Linked DNA regions of Homo sapiens: region 2 is linked to region 1. Evidence: promoter capture Hi-C in 16 types of primary human blood cells and fetal thymus (Javierre and others, 2016). All regions are on one chromosome and are shown on one strand. Each heading gives the region's core, a stretch centred on a gene start or on the middle of the fragment in contact. The rest is flanking DNA. Distances are from core to core; before and after follow the strand shown. Region 1 holds the start of HEBP1 (heme binding protein 1). Region 2 overlaps BORCS5 (BLOC-1 related complex subunit 5).

Region 1 (4,304 bases), core at 840-3,339:
ACTGCTGTCTGGCTCCACTCGAGGGAAGCCAGGTAACCTGTGTTAGGCCGCGCTTTTCCTGGCGGCCTTGTAAATCTGTTAGTACATGAAAAGCATGACGCACATGGGGATTAGGATGCCACTGCGGTGGAGTAAATCGTGTAGCCAAAGTCTTGACTGACCAAGCACACCTTATCATCGTTTACATTCTGAGCCCGACCAAAAATGGTAGGTAAAGTGACAAAGGCGGAAAGAAGGCAGACAGAAAGAATCATCTTCGTCATGCATTTCCCCTTCTGCCTCATAGGGTACGTGAGAGGCTTCATGATCCCAAGGTACCTGTCGATGCTGATCACGTACAAGGTCAAGATCCAGGCCGTGCAGCACATGACATTCATGGAGAAGACGTTACAGAAAAAGTGTCCAAAGATCCACTTGCCCCCGATGAGGTCGGTGACACTGATGAAGGGCATGACCGCCATGGCCACCGAGAGGTTGGCCAGCGCCATGGACACGATCAGGTAGTTGGAGGGCTGGCGGAGCTTCTTGACGAAGCACACGGAGATACCACCAGGCAGTTGCCCGCGATCGCAGAGAGATGAGCGTCAGGACAGAGCCGATCACAACTTTCTCGGCCCTTTCTTGATTTGCTCCCCGCGGCCGGAGGCATTGCCCGGGGTTGCGTCCCAGGTGGGCGCCGGGCTGGCCGTCACCTCGGGGGCCCCCGCTCAGCAGATGCGGCGTCCCGGAGACCGCGACCGGTTCGGCGCCACCGTCGGGGCTCAGGTCGGGCAGCCTGCCCCCCACCTCCGGCAGGAGGAAAGAGCAGAGGCGCCCGTAGAGGTCCGGGTGGCCGCTGCTGTTAACATCCATCACTGCGCCGCCGTGTGGCGCTGCCCAAGAAGCCGCCCCACCCCCCTCCCCACCCCCGCGGCCGCCACAGGCTCCGGCTTTCGGCCCCGGGGCTTCAACTCGCCGGTTCCCCTCCGCCCGGCCCAGCTTGAGGCCTGCACCGGCCGCTGGGCAGCGCCAGGCTCGGCCTCGGGGCCCCGCCTGTCCCAGATCCCCGGCCGCTGCGTGAAACGCGAGAGCGCTGCCGAGCGGGGACTCCCTGAGGGAGGGACCTCGGACCCCGACGGACGCCCGGGACGCGCGGGCTCTCGGGCGCTCCGGCGGGGCTCGGCCCGCGGCTCCACAGCCCGCTGCACCCGCGCGGCTCGGAGCAATGGAGGATCAGGCAGCGGCAGAAGCTTCCGTTTCCTCCTTTTTAAATGGCTCCAAAATATTTCTTGTCGGTGGTGTGGAGTAGAGATTTATTGGTAAAATACTTGACAGAAAGCAGGCACTCAGCTGAGTAAATGGTGACAAAATTGGTGAGAAGATTTTTGAACAGGAGTGAACGAGAAAAGCCATGCTTAGAAAAGTCACCTGGAAACTGTGATTTAGAGGGATGGTAGGAAAGAGTGGCAGCAGGAAAGTGGTTTGGATGCTCTTTCAATGGTCTAGAAGAGGTCATGGGGCGGGGGTAGAGGGACAGCTACCAAGACAGGGAGCCTGGCCGCCGCTGTACCAGCGGGATCGAGCCTTCGGGTAGAGGACCGGAGAAGCGTGAGCAACCCGGGGCTCGGAGGTTGGAGCCCAGGCACCTGAGAGAGGACGTTCCCCACCACCGCTGCCTAAAGCCACTCCAGGCGAGAATCGCTTTCCAGGGCCCCAGCGGATAGGTTAGACTCAGAATAAGAGAAGGGGTCTGCGGAGGGGGACGGCCTGAGGCCCGCGGCCGGGTTCCCTCCCCAGACACCCGCGGAAAGCCCGAAAGGAGGCGGAACACGGCCCAGCGGCTCGCCACGGCGGGCCCATCCCTTGCTTAGCCGCCTCGCACCCTCGCCTCACCGCACTGCTGCACTGCTGCACTGCTGCCCTGCTGCCCGCCCTTCGCATCACTGACCCGCCCTCTCTCCGCCCCCTCGCCTCGCCGCCCCGCCCTCTCTCTCCGCCCCTTCACCTCGCCGTCCCGCCCCCTTGCCTCACCGCCGGGCTGAATTGCCGCCCCGCCCTCTAGCCACGCCCTCTGGCCCCTGCCTCTAGCCCCGCCTCTCGCCTCGCCGCCTCGCCGTCCCGCCGCCTTGCCGCCCTGCCACCCTGCCGCCCTGCCGCCCTGCCGCCCTGCCGCCCTGCCGCCGGTGGTCGCTGCCCGTGGTGCTCCGTCGCCCCCGCCACCTCACGTCCTCCCGTGCGTCGGGAGCGTCTCGGCTACAACATGTTGGGCATGATCAAGAACTCGCTGTTCGGAAGCGTAGAGACGTGGCCTTGGCAGGTCCTAAGCAAAGGGGACAAGGTAGGCCCGCAGGGCTGCCGAGGACCTGAAGGATTGCTGCCTCCCACCCCCACCCTCGTCGGGGCTGCAGCGGGTGCTGAGGGGCAGGTGGGGCAGGAATGTGCTATCGAAGGTGCGTTCTGGTGTCTGTCGCGAGTGCGGCTCTCCACCGCCCAGCATTTGGACTGGGAAGGAAAGGAGTGAGAGGTCCCCCTGCAGCCGGTGGTGAGAGGAGGGGGGTAAACAGGAGAGACTGATCCAAGGAGAGAATCCCAACTTGGGGAGTTGGGCACTGCCTGTTGAATGCATTCTTTCGTTTAAAATATTCCAAACATTCCGAACAGTTTGATTTGTTGAGAGACACTCGGTTGCAGAAATGAGTGTCGCAAGAAACTCCCAAGTACTAGAGAACTGCGGATAGTAGCCCCCTTTATCCGCGATTTCAGTTACCTGTGGTCAGCTCTTGTCCATAACTATTAAATGGAAAATTCCAGAAATACAGAAGTCCTAAGTTTTAAGTTTCCGGCCATTCTGCGTAGCAGGATGAAATCTTGATTCCTGGGACCGGAATGCCCCTTTGTCCAAGGTCAGCCTCCTATCTCTAGTAGCCGCCCTTAGTCACTTAGTAGCTAGCTTGGTGATCGGATCGACCGTGGCGGTATTGAAGTAACCCTTATTTTACTTAGTAATGGCCCCAAAGTGCAAGCTTAGCAATGCTGGCATATTGTTATAATTGCTGTTATTTTATTATTGTTGTTCATCTCTTACTGTGCCTAATTGATAAAGTTAAACTATATCATAGGTATGTATGTATAGGAAAAAACGTAGTAGATACAGGGTTCAGTTTTGTCCACCGTTTCAGGTATCCACTGGGGGGCTTGGAAGGTATCTACTATAGATAAGGGGGACTACTGTGTAAAAGAACAAGATCTGTGCAGAATAGATATAAATGCGCTACGCAGGGAGCACAGAGGCAGTCAATTCTGCCAGGGGGCTATGATGGGGACCTCAGTGGAGTGTCCTGAGCTGGGGCCTCAGGGATGTGTAGGAGTGCACACAACAGAGAAGAGCATGCACAAAGGCCCAGAGCTGTACCATTGCTTTTGGCCAGTTAGATCCTCTGGAGTTGGGTACCTAGAATACAGAATGAGTGAGAAGAGCATAATTGCTGTCTTCCCCCAAATTTATATCAGTGCTAACATGGGCTAACTGGACTGCACCCCTGAAAACAAGGAGAGTGCTGCTAGATTATAATCTCCTGGTGGACAGGTAGTTTAAACAGTGCAGCTGTATACAGAGCTCCCAATACGATGCCTCATTTGTGAAAGGACTGTATTGCCTGGGGGCCAAGTTCTGATACCTAGTACAATGATCTTCATATCACGAAAGCCCTCAATTAGACTCTAATCTGAACTCTTTGACAACCAAAGACCTTTCACCTGTTCTTATCTCCGTTTCCCCAGCTCTATGTAGAATGAACAGTTTAGCCCTGATCAGAGGTCCCACATTTGAATACCTGCAGCAACCAGGCAGGTAATGGAAATGGATGAAGCTGGCTGTTTTAGGCTATAAGGCATAGTGGGGACTGAGGCAAATCAGAGAGTGAACTCAGGTCCCCATCTCTAAACGGCAGTTCCAGCCACTTGTTGCTATGCAGTGATATATGAAACAGTGTTGCCAAATTCTTAAGGAAAACCATACATCCAGATTCTTAGCGAAATCACCCAATTTAAAAATAATTCGACAAAAACTGTTTTTTGAGTGCTATGTGCCAGGCACTCTTCTAGGCAATGGGATAAAAGATTAAAACCAGCAAAATTCTCTGCCCTCATGGAACTTATGTTTTATTGGCTAATGAACAAATAAAATGTATCATGGATCAGATAGTGATCAGTGCTGTGAAGAAAAGCAAGCAGGGGAGTGAGGAATAGGGAGTATTAGGAGTGAGGCTGTGATTTTGAGTAGGGAAACTGACATAGTTGTGCATAGGCTGGACACAAATGCAATA
Region 2 (4,304 bases), core at 787-3,286, 630 kb after region 1:
CAGGAGATCGAGACCATCCTGGCTAACACAGTGAAACCCCATCTCTACTAAAAATACAAAAAAAAAATTAGCCAGACGTGGTGGCGGGCACCTGTAGTCCCAGCTACTCGGGAGGCTAAGGCAGGAGAATGGCGTGAACCCGGGAGGCAGAGCTTGCAGTGAGCCGAGATTGCACCACTGCACTCAAGCCTGGGCGACAGAGCGAGACTCCGTCTCAAAAAAAAAAAAAAAAAAAAAAAAGAATACTCTCTGCAACCCTGCCTTCTCTATGTAGCTACCTGCTATTCATCCCTCAAAGCTCAGCTGAATTCTACTTCCTCTAGGAAGCCTGCCCCAAATTCCCAGGCCAAATTAATAATTATCTCCTCCATGTTTATCTACTCTTTGGGACATGTGGCCAGTGTTACTAATATGATATTATTGTGAATACTTACCTGTCTAAATCGCTCACAAAACAATAAGGTCCTAAAGGGCAGCAACTATGTCTTCTATTTTTTGTACCTGCACTGTCTGACCACATCAGGCACTTAGCAGGTGCTTATCAATATGTTGCAGAAATGAATGACCAATTAAAGGCTGTTGGCAGGAGGGTCTTATAAGTAAAATGGAAAAACTGGTATCGGACAGAAAAATATGGATTAAAAAGCATTTTTTTAAGGATTTCTGCCTCTGCACATGAAGGATTAACTGCTATTATGCAATAATAAACAACTAGAAAACCAGACAAAAATATATGAAACACTCATTTCCGATACTGTATAACAGGCAGCACAGGACTTTGATCCCTGAAAGAAGGAAAACAAGCCCTACCATTTTCCCAGCTTATTACCTAAAGGCAGTTTCCAAGAGGCAGACCAGGGAGGTGTCTTGGTCGGTACAGGCTGCTACAACAAGAATACCATAAACTGGATGGCTTAAACAACATACATTTATTTCTCACAGTTCTGGAGGCTGGGAAGTACAAGATTTAGGTGCTAGCACATTGGATATTTGGTGAGGGCACTCTTCCTGGTTTGCAAATGGCTGTCTTCTCCTTGTGTCCTCACATGGCTAAGAACAGAAGGAAGAAGGAACCTCTCTCCCCTCTCTTCTTGTAAGGGCGTGACTCCCATGACATGAGGGCTCCACCCTCATGATCAAATCACTTCCCAAGGCCCCATCTCCTAATACAGCATATTGGGGATTACAATTTCAACCTGTGAATTGGGGGGAGACATAATCATTCAGTCCATAGCAGAATGGACATCAAAAAAAGCCCAGCAGCCTCACTGAGTTAGAGAGAGAGCAAAGTTTGCAGAAACTAAAGTGGGTAGGATTTACACAACAGAATATGGGAGAGAAGGGGGCAGCCTTGAGATCTGCACAGGGTACCCTTAAATCTCTGAAAACATCATCTGTAAATTTGTAAGGTGAAATTCCAGAGACTGGAGAAAACTAGAGAGAAGCAGTAGGCCAAATATTTTCTGAAGAGCTCATGTTCCCATTAGCCACAGTGGAGAGACTTCATAATACATAAGGCAACAGGTAGAGTACTCAGAAGGATTTCACCTTAGTAGTGAGATGAAATTAAACTAGGCAAAGACTGCACTAGATGAGCCCCAACGGTATTTAAAAGAAAACATGGGAAGGGTCCAAATGACTACAAGTAACTTAACCATATGTATATGCCAGAATAAAGTCTGGTATCCTTAAAGGAATAAAATGAAATCCAGGCCAGGTGTGGTGGTGCATGCCTGTAATCCCAACAATTTGGTGGACTGAAGCAGGCGGTTTGCTTGAGCCCAGGGGGGTTGAGGCTGCAGTGAGCCACGGTGGTGCCACTGCACTCTAGCCTGGGCAACAGAGCGAGATCCTGTCTCTAAAAGGAAAAAAAAAATTAGTAAGTAAATTTTAAAAGAAATGCACTCTACTCCCAGCACTTTAGGAAGCCGAGGCAGGTGGATCACCTGAGGTCAGGAGTTCAAGACCAGCCTGGCCAACATGGCGAAACCCCGTCTCTACTAAAAGTACAGAAATTAGCTGGGCATGGTGGCGGGTGGCTGAAATCCCAGCTACTCAGGAGACTAAGGCATGAGAATTGCTTGAACCCTAGAGGCAGAGGTTGCAGTGAGCTGACATCGTGCCATTGCACTCCAGCCTGGGCGACAAGGGCGAAACTCCCTCTTAAAAATAAAATTAAAATAAAATTGAAGTACTCATACGTTCAAAAAGTAGAGGAAAACATAAGCATGATAAGCAGAGAGATCAAAGACATTTAAGGGGGAGAATCTAAAGCTGAAAAATACCAGCATCTGAAATTAAGAACACCTTGGATGAGATTAAAAGCAGTACAGACATGACAGAAAAAAAGACCACTGAACATGGAAACACAGCAGTAAAAATTATCCAAAGTAAGGACAGAAAGGAAAAGACTAAAAATAAAAATTGAAAGGTGTGTCAGTGATGTGTAAGAAAATATCAAGCGGTCTAACATCGAATTGGCGTCCCACAAAAAGCAGGTGGGGGGAGCAGAAAAATATTGGAAGACATAATGACCAAAGTTTTCGATTAAAAGTACAAACCTGCAGATCAAAGAACATAGAGAACATATTAGTGTGAACTTGTCATTTTCAATATATAGAAAATATAGGCCAGGCATGGTGGCTCATGCCTGCAATCCCAGCACTTTGGGAGGCTGAGGCAGGTGGATCGCTTGTGCCCAGGAGTTTGAGACTAGCCTAGGCAACATTGGGAAACCCCATCTCTACAAAAAATACAAAAAGATTAGTTGGGCGTGGTGGCACGCAGAGTAGTCCCAGCTGCTCAGGAGGCTGAGGTAGGAGGATTCCTTGAGCCCAGGAGGTCAAAGCTGCAGTGAGCCGTGATTGTGCCACTGCACTCCAGCCAGGGTGAAAGGGCAAGATCGTGTTGCCAAATACACGAACATATAAAAAATAAACATAGGTGTAAATGTGTGGGTGTGTATCTATGGATTCCCTAGCTAAATCTTCTGAGAAGGTCCAGAAATGGATTCTAAATAAGACCCTTCACTAAAAGAACCAGGGTTCCTTTAAGAAATACCCGATTCTAGAGCTGGAGACATGGAAGAACAAAATAAGTCTGGAACATTATATTGTGCCAGAAAATAAAGACATTTTCAAAGTATAAGGGGAATATGTTAAAAGGACACAGTAGGCCAGGCGCAGTGGCTCACGCCTGTAATCCCAGCACTTTGGGAGGCCGAGGTGGGCGGATCACAAGGTCAGGAGATCGAGACCACCCTGGCTAACACAGTGAAATCCCGTCTCTGCTAAAAATACAGAAAAATTAGCTGGGCATGATGGTGGGCGCCTGTAGTCCCAGCTACTCGGCAGGCTGAGGCAGGAGAATGGCGTGAACCCAGGAGGCAGAGCTTGCAGTGAGCCAAGATCGCACCACTGCACTCCAGCCTGGGCCACAGAGCGAGACTCCATCTCCAAAAAAAAAAGGACACAGGAAGTTAGATTGAAGATGCTGTCACTGGCCAATTTTGGAACATTTTGAGATTGAAAAAGAAATAATGATAATAACAGATTACATACAACTCATTGGATAAAATAGGAGCTGACTGTTCCCGCACTGATTTGAATAAATAAATGGGGAGATGAGAAACCTATTCCTTCCAATAGAATATAAACTAATAAATGTAGAAGGAATGAAAAATTTAGAAAACAGTTATTTGGTAGCCATCACAGCATAATTAATTCAAGCAAGAATCATCAATAGATATTATAACTGATGAAATAAAGGTAGATTAAAAAATGAGATTTCATGGAGTCTCACAATATGTCTTCAAAAACTTAGTAATTACACCAAAAAATGACTTTATAACAAAAGTGGGCAAAAAAAAGTTCAGATAGATAAAAACAGGACTTTTTTCCAGCTGACCTGTACTGCAAGATATGCTAAAAGAAGTCCTTTAAACTAAAAATAAATGACATCAAATGGAAACTGGAGAAAGGGATTAGGAATTCTGGAAATGTTAACTATGTGGGTAAACATCACATTCTATATATAGTTATTTTCTTCTCTTAATCACTTCAAAAAATATATTATTAAAACAAAAACGTGTGTGTGTGTGTGTGTGTGTGTGTGTGTGTGTGTATAAAACCACTATGGGATTTCTAACGTATGTAGATGCAATATATATGAAAGCAATAGCACAAAGAAGTGAAGGTGGGCCGGGCGTGGTGGCTCATGCCTGTAATTCCAGCATTTTGGGAGGCTGAGGCAGGCAGATCAACTGAGGTCAGGAGTTCGAGACCAGCCTGACCAACATGGTGACA

Evidence for each region. The method cuts DNA at HindIII sites, captures the fragments that hold promoters and counts their contacts. A CHiCAGO score of 5 or more calls a contact.
Region 2: a fragment that was not itself captured here is called in contact with the fragment with the promoter of HEBP1 in region 1 in 4 of 17 cell types (total B cells, fetal thymus, neutrophils and 1 more); the score reaches 8.0 in total B cells.

What each region holds. Positions count from the first base shown.
Region 1 is chr12:12,998,050-13,002,353 of GRCh38, reverse strand. HEBP1 (heme binding protein 1) reads left to right here and starts at 2,089. Exons shown (of 4, transcript NM_015987.5): 1 at 2,089-2,317. The coding sequence starts at 2,240. All of the region lies in intron 2 of GPRC5D-AS1 (GPRC5D and HEBP1 antisense RNA 1), which reads right to left. It also overlaps the pseudogene HTR7P1. RefSeq lists an enhancer at 25-570 and silencers at 995-1,144, 1,905-2,024, 2,075-2,224. The HindIII fragment of the contact is 1,773 bases long and covers 1,232-3,004 here.
Region 2 is chr12:12,369,918-12,374,221 of GRCh38, reverse strand. All of the region lies in intron 2 of BORCS5 (BLOC-1 related complex subunit 5), which reads right to left. Among named protein-coding and RNA genes, the nearest start is that of BORCS5, 15 kb to the right of the region's middle. The HindIII fragment of the contact is 9,315 bases long and covers 1-4,304 here.